Regions from separate parts of the Homo sapiens genome. Here region 1 is linked to region 2. The links are contacts of gene promoters, found by promoter capture Hi-C in human tissues and cell types (Jung and others, 2019). All regions are on one chromosome and are shown on one strand. The core of a region is centred on a gene start or on the middle of the fragment in contact, and the rest is flanking DNA. Distances in the headings are between cores, read along the strand shown.

Evidence for each region. Contacts are between HindIII fragments. The study calls those that stand out against the background at their distance.
Region 1: a contact is called between the fragment with the promoter of SNAPC4 here and a fragment that was not itself captured in region 2, in 1 of the 25 tissues and cell types used here (mesenchymal stem cells).

The regions. Positions count from the first base shown.
Region 1 is chr9:136,397,101-136,401,439 of GRCh38, forward strand. SNAPC4 (small nuclear RNA activating complex polypeptide 4) reads right to left here and starts at 3,070. Exons shown (of 24, transcript NM_003086.4): 1 at 3,034-3,070; 2 at 1,199-1,337. The coding sequence starts at 1,328. RefSeq lists enhancers at 354-1,553, 3,283-4,219 and silencers at 2,728-2,837, 2,908-3,037, 3,108-3,317, 3,468-3,517. The HindIII fragment of the contact is 18,374 bases long and covers 1-4,339 here.
Region 2 is chr9:136,643,681-136,648,036 of GRCh38, forward strand. It overlaps LOC105376325 (a long non-coding RNA gene), which reads right to left and starts at 796. Exons shown (of 3, transcript XR_930446.4): 1 at 466-796; 2 at 64-341. LOC102724193 (a long non-coding RNA gene) reads left to right here and starts at 3,004. Exons shown (of 4, transcript XR_930443.3): 1 at 3,004-3,864. RefSeq lists a cis regulatory region at 643-3,352, silencers at 710-759, 1,030-1,159, 2,320-2,369, 2,980-3,169 and enhancers at 1,983-2,680, 2,681-3,377. The HindIII fragment of the contact is 7,707 bases long and covers 1-4,356 here.

The DNA.
Region 1 (4,339 bases), core at 1,820-4,319, 250 kb before region 2:
TGGGCAGACCTGGGGTTGTGAGGTAGTGACAGCGCCTCAGGCTGAGGCTGGCGGTGAGCGGACCTTCCCTCCCTGACAGCGGGGTGGGCACTGGACCAAGGCCGGGTTAGCCAGATAGAGAAAACTCTGACCACACACTGGGGACCTCCAGGCACACAGGACAAAGCTACACAGGGTTCACTGGATGGCACAAGCTATCTTTACTGGAGAGACAGGGAAAGTTTAGCAGAAAACGGACCTCTCCTTCAGGAGCTTAGCCGGTCAGATGGGAGGCACGGATGTAGAGGCCCTCACCACAGGAGAAAGATAGCAGGTTGCCTCAGAGGCAGGCCCTGGGTCTGGGAGAGGTGGGAAGCAAGGCTGGGGGGGTCTCCTGTCAGGGCAGCAGCTGGTGGGGTTGGGGTAGGCTCAGAAGCTAAAGGGAGCATGGAGGAGAGCATGTGGGGAGGGGAGCATGTTGGGAGGAGAGGCTGTGGGGTGGGGAGCCTATGGGGTGGGGAGCACATGGGGAGGGGAGCACGTGGGGTGGGGAGCACGTGGGGAGGGGAGCACGTGGGGAGGGGAGCACGTGGGGAGGGGAGCACGTGGGGTGGGGAGCACGTGGGGTGGGGAGCACGTGGGGAGGAGAGCACTTGGGGTGGGGAGCACGTGGGGAGGGGCACATGTGAGAAGAAGAGATCCTAGGGGTGTGAGCTGTGTTGACCATCCAGGCATGGACTGTCCAGACTGCCATCTGGTGAGGTTCAGGCCTGCCCCCTCCTCCCAGGATGGTCCACTCCAGAAGCCCTGCACAGGCCCAAGGAGGCCAGGCCCAGACCCTGGGATGCCTAGAGCCCAGTGTACACACACAGCCAGCTGGTTCAGGGGCTAGCAAAGGAGGAATTGTCAGAAGCTCTCTGGCTGGAGTACAGAAAGACACCAGTGTTGGCAAAAAATTGGGTCTGGTCCAAGCAGCACCAGCCATCGTTTATTATTATTATTATTATTTTTAGAGACAGGGTCTTGCTGCGTTGTCCAGGCTGGACATGAACTCCTGGGATCAAACAATGCTCTCACCTCAGCCTCAGGAGTCCCTGGGTTTACAGGCCTGAGAAACCACACCCGGCTACCATCACTCCCTAATGTGCCTGAGAGGAACCCAGGAGGCAGACCAGCTGTTCTTACCAGGACCCCAGGAGGCTAGGTACAAGGGGCTTACCTGCTTCAGAATCTGACTCGAGACTTGATTCTGAGATCTCCACGTGGGAGCCCGAGGAGCCGGGATCCAAAATCCTTTCCAGCTCCTTGATCTCCTGTGTTATCTTCTCTCTTTCAGCATCTACATCCATGACTCCCGCCTGCCTCCAAAACACACCCCGAGATGTTAGAAACCAAGACCGTGCCGGGATCCCATTCTCCTTCAGACACACCCGCCCATGGGGGATGGCAGGAGCCTGCTCGGCAGTGGGCACTGGGCTCCCCAGAGAAAGATTAATAGGCCAGGCACAGAATCGGGGAACCCTGGGACAGGAACCTCAGACCCCACAAACTCCTGCTATGTGCTCTGCCAGGAGCCTAAGCCCCAAGAACATCTCCCGCCTGCTCTGAGGCTGCAACCAGCACAGGCAGGGAGTGGATGAACAAGGACAGGCCCCACTGTCCCGTCTCTGCTCCCACACCAAGCCACATGGAAACTGGCCACCCAGCGTAGAAGGTGTGGGGTGCAGTGGCAAAGTCACTACAGGGCAAGGACACAGCCCGTGACCCACTTTGGCCATCCTGCTCTCCCATGACACAGAGCCGGACCACAGAGGGCATTTGAGAAACGTTCACAGAGACACACACTGAGACTGCCCAGGTGGCAGGCACTAACAGCATGGTTGGGAAGGAAGCTCCCAAAGGGAAGGCTGGCTGTTCTCTGTACATCCAGAACAACGCCTGGAACGTGGCAGTGCCTGACACTAACAAATGTTTGTCAAGCTTTTTTCTTAGGAACTGTGGTCCAGGAAGTCTGAAGGGAGAAGGACGCTAGAGAGAGAGTGGGAGAATGAAACATTAGCAGAGAAAATCTAAAGGAATCACTAGCACAGACCCGGGAGCCCAAAACACCCAACAACAAAGAGAAACGCCCTCCCCCGTCCTTGGCGTGGCTCTCCCTGCTGGAGGCTGACTGGGGCCCTGCCCAACTGGAACAAAACCAAAGCATCCACCCGCGAGCACCGTTAGCCGCATCAGCAGCCCAGGTCCCCTCACTCCTTCACAAAGCCCCTTGTTTATGCCCGAAATGCTTGTGAACCTGTAAACTCAGTTAACAGCCGGCCAGAGGCAGAGCTGGCAGCGACCGCAGGCTGGTTCAGCGCCTCCGGGCCGGCGGAGACGCTTTCCTCTGGAAGCCTCACACGAGGCTGCTGCCTCCCCCTCCCCGTGTCGCTCAGGTGAGCAATGATCAGCAGGAAGGAGGTCAAAGTCACACGTGCTGAGCCACTGACATCAGGGGCTGTCCCTCTCCCCGCACCCCTCTCCCAAGGGCTGGTCATGAGGGCTGCCCACCAAGACGGAGCGCAGCAGGCGGTCCCTCCAGCCCCAGCTGCGGGGACGCCACCCAGACTCGGCTGGGCCCAGGGAACCCCAGGATGCGCCAGGACGATGGGCGTTTAGGCACTGGCTTGGGAGACAGACCCGGCCCAGGCCCAGTTCCGCCTCCTGCTCGCTGCGTGAACTGGGGAAACCCCCTCCGAGGCTCGGCCACCGCGGAATCGCCGGCGCAGTCCCCGAGACGCACGCGGGCGCCCTGCAGCCGGGGCCGCCCCGCCGGAGCCTCCTCGGAGCCCGCAGCCCGCTCCCAGCCGAGGGGCTCCCAGGGCCAGAATCCCCGCGCGCCCAGGCTCGGCCGGACGGGGGCCACGCCGGGCCTCAGTTTCCCCGACTTTGGGCGCTGCCCCGCCCCCGTCCCGGGCCTCGGCTATCCGCTCCTCGGGACAGCGCCCCCTCCACGGGGAGAGCCCTGAAGCTGCCGACGCCACCCGCGCCTCACCTGCTGGGCGCACACCTTACCTGGCCGCGCGGACCCCGCCGTCGCCCGGGCGACTGCAGACTCGACGCTTCCGGCGGCTGCAGAACAAGAGCGCCGCGCGCCGGAAGTCCCGCCTCCTGAGGCGCGGGGCACGCCGGGACGGCCGCTGCGGCCTGCCGGGACTAGAGAGGCGAACGGCTCGATGCTGCCCTCGCGCGGCCGCCCTGGGGGCCGCCTCCGCGCGCTCTGGAGGGGCGCGGGTGGACGCGGGACCTCAAGGCAGGGGACAGACAGGGACAGGCACCCGGCCACCTGGTCACGATCCGGAAGACCGGCCCTTACTGGCTGTGACCTTCGGCCATCGCTGGACCTCTCTGTGCTTGTTTCATCCTCTGTTAACGGACATGTTGGGGTTTGGTTAAGCAACGGATGAGAAAGTCTACGTGAAAGGCTTTTTCCCCAGCCTGCCCTGCATGCTCAGGATCGCCGAGGCCAGGCCGATCTCCAGGCACGTGCAGGAGACTGAGGCCAGAGGGTGGGGGCCCGCACCACACAAACTCGCTTCCCTGGTCACCTGTGCACACCCTCTGGGGTCTCCTGGCCTGGAGAGCTGCCCCGGGGCCCTCCCCTAAGTGGGCATTCATTCCTTCAGGAACGTGCCAGGGCTAACTCGGCCGGGAGCTGGGCAGGGGCCTACAGTTCCTGGCTCCTGAGAGCTTCTAAGTATCGGTGCTGCAAAGACATCCTGGGCCCAGCCAGTTGAGGGGGCCTCCACTCCAGCCTGGGGTGAGCTAGGGGCATCAGCTGGAGAACTATAAAGAGGGTTTGCCCTGCCTACCTAGGAGGTGGGCTTTTGGTGGCAAAGGGCTAGGCCCAGGTGAGGCCAAACTGGGAGCTAGGGATTGGCAAGAAACAGATGGAGGGGATGGAACCAGGCGGCTGGGGGCTCCTCGAGCGCCTCGTTTCAGTCCCTGCATCGGGCTTGAAATCTGGAGGCAGAAGGCAGGCACTAAATACCGCGCCACAAATTGTATTTTTAAACTTCTTACTATCAAACGCTTCAAACACAGACATCAAAAGAGAGGGGTGCGCAAAACCCACATGCCCATCCCCACCGCGCTTCCCTGGGCCCCACCTGCTCCATGAGCTGCTGGCATGAGGGCCAGGGGACCACCCCACTTCACACGCATCTGGTGGATGGGACCCGCCTGGCGATCTGGCCTTTGTGACCCCCACCCCATCAAATGCTGTCTCTCCCAAAGGGCCTCAGGGAAGGCCTGTGGCCTGAGGCATCCTCCCCAGATGCCCCCATCCTGCTGCTACAGGGCTCCCAGAGCTGCCTATACA
Region 2 (4,356 bases), core at 676-3,175:
CAAGGAGGCTGGGAGACGTGGTCTTTAGCTGGACAGCCTTGAGCCCGGTGAAACCCCTTTTACCGTGAAATGGGAGGGCACAGCTTGGGTGACGATCAGAGGTCGCCGCGGCACGGGTGGTCCTCACCCAAGCTCTCCCACGGAGCCGCAAGGCTCGTCCCCGTGTTCTCACACGCATCAGGTCATCACTCCTTTCCATTTCTTTTCTTGAAGGCATCTCCTGGCCTCCTGGAGACTTTGCCCCACCCGTCTCCTCTGGACTGGCCACTCTGGTCACTCTGACAGCCTCCCTTCAGCTGTGACGCTGCCACTTCTTCTTTCAGTCATCACGGGAATGCCCCCTGTGGGTTTTCCACATTTGAATCCCAGAGATTCGGCAGCCGGCCCCTCCCCAGAAGATCGCGGGGACCTACTGCCCCTGCAGAATCCCTTGGCCTGCCCCAAAGCCGGCAAGCAAACCCTCACCCCAAAGCGTCTGGCATTCCCTGGTCACCTCAGGACAGCCCAGCCTGCCATCCTCCCCGATATGCAGGCCGTGCCGCCGTGTGACTCGCAGGATTCAGGAGTCAGGGGGCCAGAGTCGGCAGCCAGGCTTTCCCTGGAGGCTGTGCCCAGAGCTCCTCAGAGTGTGAAATGTGGTGACAGCGGTGCCCGCTGGCTGCTTGCAGGATCCTGGCAGTGACCCGCGGGCAGGGCCCCCCCGGACGGCCCCCTGCGGAGGGCGCAGCCTTGCAGGTGGGGTCGGAGCACAGGGTCCCAGGGTCCCAGGCCCCACTTCCCAACCAAGCCAGGTCCTCTCTCCGCCCCTCTCCTCGAATCTTAAGAGCCTTTGGAGAGAAGCCACGCAGGGCGGGACGCACAGGCTGTCAGGGTGGGAGGGGTGCGTGTCCCACGTGCAGGGAGCCCCGCCCAAGGCTGGCAGCAGCAGGGTAGAGGCCACTGGTCCGGGGCAGCTTCCGCGGGGAAACACCGCCGCGCTGTGAGCATTGGGGGAACTGCAGCCGCCGCCCCATCTGCCGGCTGCGGGTCGTTGGGGGGGCCCCATGCCAACGGCCACGGAGGCCAAGGACCCCCGGAACCCCTCGGCCTTTGTCCCAGGAGAGGCTCCTCACACCCTCGGTGCCAGGGCCCTGGGAGCCCGTGAGACCAGGGTTCTCCCTGCTCAGACTCTTCCTGTGGCCTGGAGGGGACAGTGGGGGTGACAGGCACTGACCACCAGGCAGGCAGCAGCCAGGCAGAGCCTGGGGTGTGAGGACACAGAGGTGACCAGGTGCTGAGCCCCTCCCTGATGAGCTCAGCACGGAGGTGGGAGCCCCTGACCCTTTCCCAGGGCTCTGAGTCAGCCTTGGAGAGTGTGGCGTTGAGCCTGGCCAGAGGTCAGCAGATGGCGGGCGGCTGGCGCTGGGGCCCCGGCTCTGCAGAAGGGTCAGGCCCCAGCACACCCGGGCATTTCCTGTGCAGCCCCAGATGGGTGAGGTCAGCTGAGAAGGGGAGAGGCCACAGGGGACTTCCTCTATCCTCTCAAATTAGCGGAGGCAGGGCCCCGGGCCGGGCCAGGGCCTAGGGCGGACGTGCTCTGGATATGGCAGCCTCTCCTCTCCCACCCCCCAAGGAAGCGCCACTCAGCTACAGCCCCAGCCCCAGTTGATGGGTGGGAAACTGAGGCACAGCCAGATCCACAGATGACAATGGGCCCGGTCGGCGACTGCAGGTGGCCCTGCGCTCTCTGGCCTGCAGGTCACAGGCTCCAGCCACGGCCAACAGAAAAAGACTCTCACGGCCTGGCTCACCCACTGTCAGTCAGGGACGCAAAGGTCCCTCTCACAGCAGGGCCACGACCTGAATCTAGCCACTGGGCTCAGGATGCCTCCCCGGGAGGCAAGCGAGAGCCCTGTCACCACGGAACAGGTTAGAGGGGCACAAGCCTCTGTGGGCCTCTCCCACGCCCCCCACCCCCCACCCCCCGTGCTTCTGCAGAAGTGGGGGCCTGCAGGGGCTCTGGTGCCTTCCCACAGCAGGTGTCATCAGGGCAGGAACACAGTCCCCACCGCCTACCCATGGGTTTCACGTGCTGGGGGCAGTCATCACCCCAACCTCAAGAAGCCAAGAGGACTGGATGTGGCCCCAGCACCCCACCAGCAGCCATGTCCTCCCAGGGAGGGAGCATGACTTACGCCTGGGGCAGAATAGGCTGCAGGGCCTGCTGGGAAGCCGTTCCCGGACCCCAGCTCAGTCCTCCGGCAGATTCACTCAGAGGAAGGTAGCACTGGTGACCTGGCCGGTGCTAGGCCCCCAAGCCCGCCCGCCAGCGTTCTTCAAGTCTGCACGTCCGAGGGCGGGAGGGAGCATGGACCCTGTCAGCCCCACCCTGACTGGGGTGGCCCCATATCCACCAGAGGGCAGCTGGGCCCAGTCCGGGCCATCCCCTTCGGGAGCCAGCACAGCAGGAGGGCCCCTTGTCAGCCAGAGCCTGGGTGGACGGCAGAGCCCCCGGGGCCGCCTCTGGACTGAGTTTGTGCCTCACCTAGCTGGGGCCTGACCTCGAGAGGTCACTGTTGCCCTGGGCCTCAGTTTCCCCATCCAACAGGTGGGGAGAGCGTTAGCACCCACATCACGGCGGCCCCACAGATCAGTGCAGCGTGAAGTACTCAGCTAACCCTCCAGACCCCGGAGGCTGGGCCTCCCACCCCGCTGCCCCTGACCCATCCTGCACATCTGCCCCCACCTGGCTCCGCTCGCTCCCCTTGCTCCCCTCAGCCTCCCGTCCCGCTGGGTGGGGGCCTCCAGCGCCTCCGCCTCCGCCTCCGGGCTTCCAGGCAGGAAGGCGGCGGAGAGGAGCGTTTCCGCGCAGGCTGCTGTGCTGGGAGTGCAGCCTGTGATAAGGACACACATGGCCGGCTGCACGTCCGCCTTTTGTCCCTGGCTCCCGCCAGCCCTTCCTGCTCCGGCCTGCAGGGTGGGGACTATGGGCCCGGCTGCAGCCCTCCCCCGACCCCCACCTCCACTCTGCCCCTGGCTCCACAGCCCCTGGGGTCCTGGCTGCCCTGGGGGAGTTTGAGGCCCCCAGTAGCAGCTACGGCTGGGGCCCCGGACAAACTGGGGGTGTAGGAGCTCTAGGAAATCAACCCCAGGGAGGCTGCTACGGCTAAACAGAAGCATCAGCCCCAACCCAGCAGGGCCAGATGTTCTGCTCTCCCTCCCCCAGTTTCGGCTGCCGGGAGGGTCCCCACCGAGAGTCCCCCCCGACTCCTGCACAGGCCTAGCCACAGGCTCCCTCCCGGGCTGGACCGACCACTCTCCTGCTTGAGGTCCCAGAGAGGCGCTGGCCTGGCCCGGCCCATGTGCCCCACAAACACCCCTGGCTGCTCCTCCGGCATCTGTCTTAAAGTGCCAGCCCAGCGTGAGCCCCGCATCAGCTACCGAGAGGTATCCATCCTTACCCCCGACTGCCCATGGTGCCTACGCGGCAACCTCACAACCGGTCTGCTGAGCTGGGTGGAGGAGAGGTTCCACCCACCCCAGAAGGAGTCCACTCCCATCCCCTAAACTCCAGGAGCTGCCCTTGGCTGAGGAAGGACTGCAGAGGGCACGGGGCAGGCTGAGCCCAGGGTGGCAGGGGCTGCATGGTGCCCGGGATGCCTGGCAGGAGAGAGACCCGCAGCCCAGAAGGCTTCCTCTCCAGGACTGGGGGCCCCTCAGTGCTCACACTTCCCACTAACTGCCAGCATCCCCTACAACATGGCCCACGTCTCAAGGGATTGGAAGGAGCCCCCGCAGAGGCCATCGGCACGGACTAGAATGCAACCCAGTGGGGCATCCACCGATGTGGTCAAACGCTCAGCCAAGATGGTGGGAAGCGTTCAGGTCTGAGGCATTTCTTCTTTTTCTTGAATAACACCTTTATGGCTGGCCACGGTGGCTCATGCCTGTCATCCCAGCACTGTGGGAGGCCGAGGCGGGCAGATCACCTGAGGTCAGGAGTTTGAGACCAGCCTGGCCAACATGGTGAAATGCTGTCTCTACTACAAATACAAAAATTAGCTGGGTGTGGTGGCGGGCGCCTGTAATCCCAGCTACTAGGGAGACTGAGGCAGGAGAATTGCTTGAGCCCAGGAGGCAGAGGTTGCAGTGAGCTGAGATCGTGCCACTGCATTCCAGCCTGGGAGACAGAGTGAGACTCCACCTTGAAAATAAAATAAAAATAACAGCTTTATTAAGAAATCATTTATATACCATACAATTCACCCATTTAAAATGTACAATTCAGTCCGGGCTCGGTGGCTCATGCCTGTAATCCCAGCACTTTGGGAGGCTGAGGCGGGTGGATCACCAGGTCAGGAGTTTGAGACCAGCCTG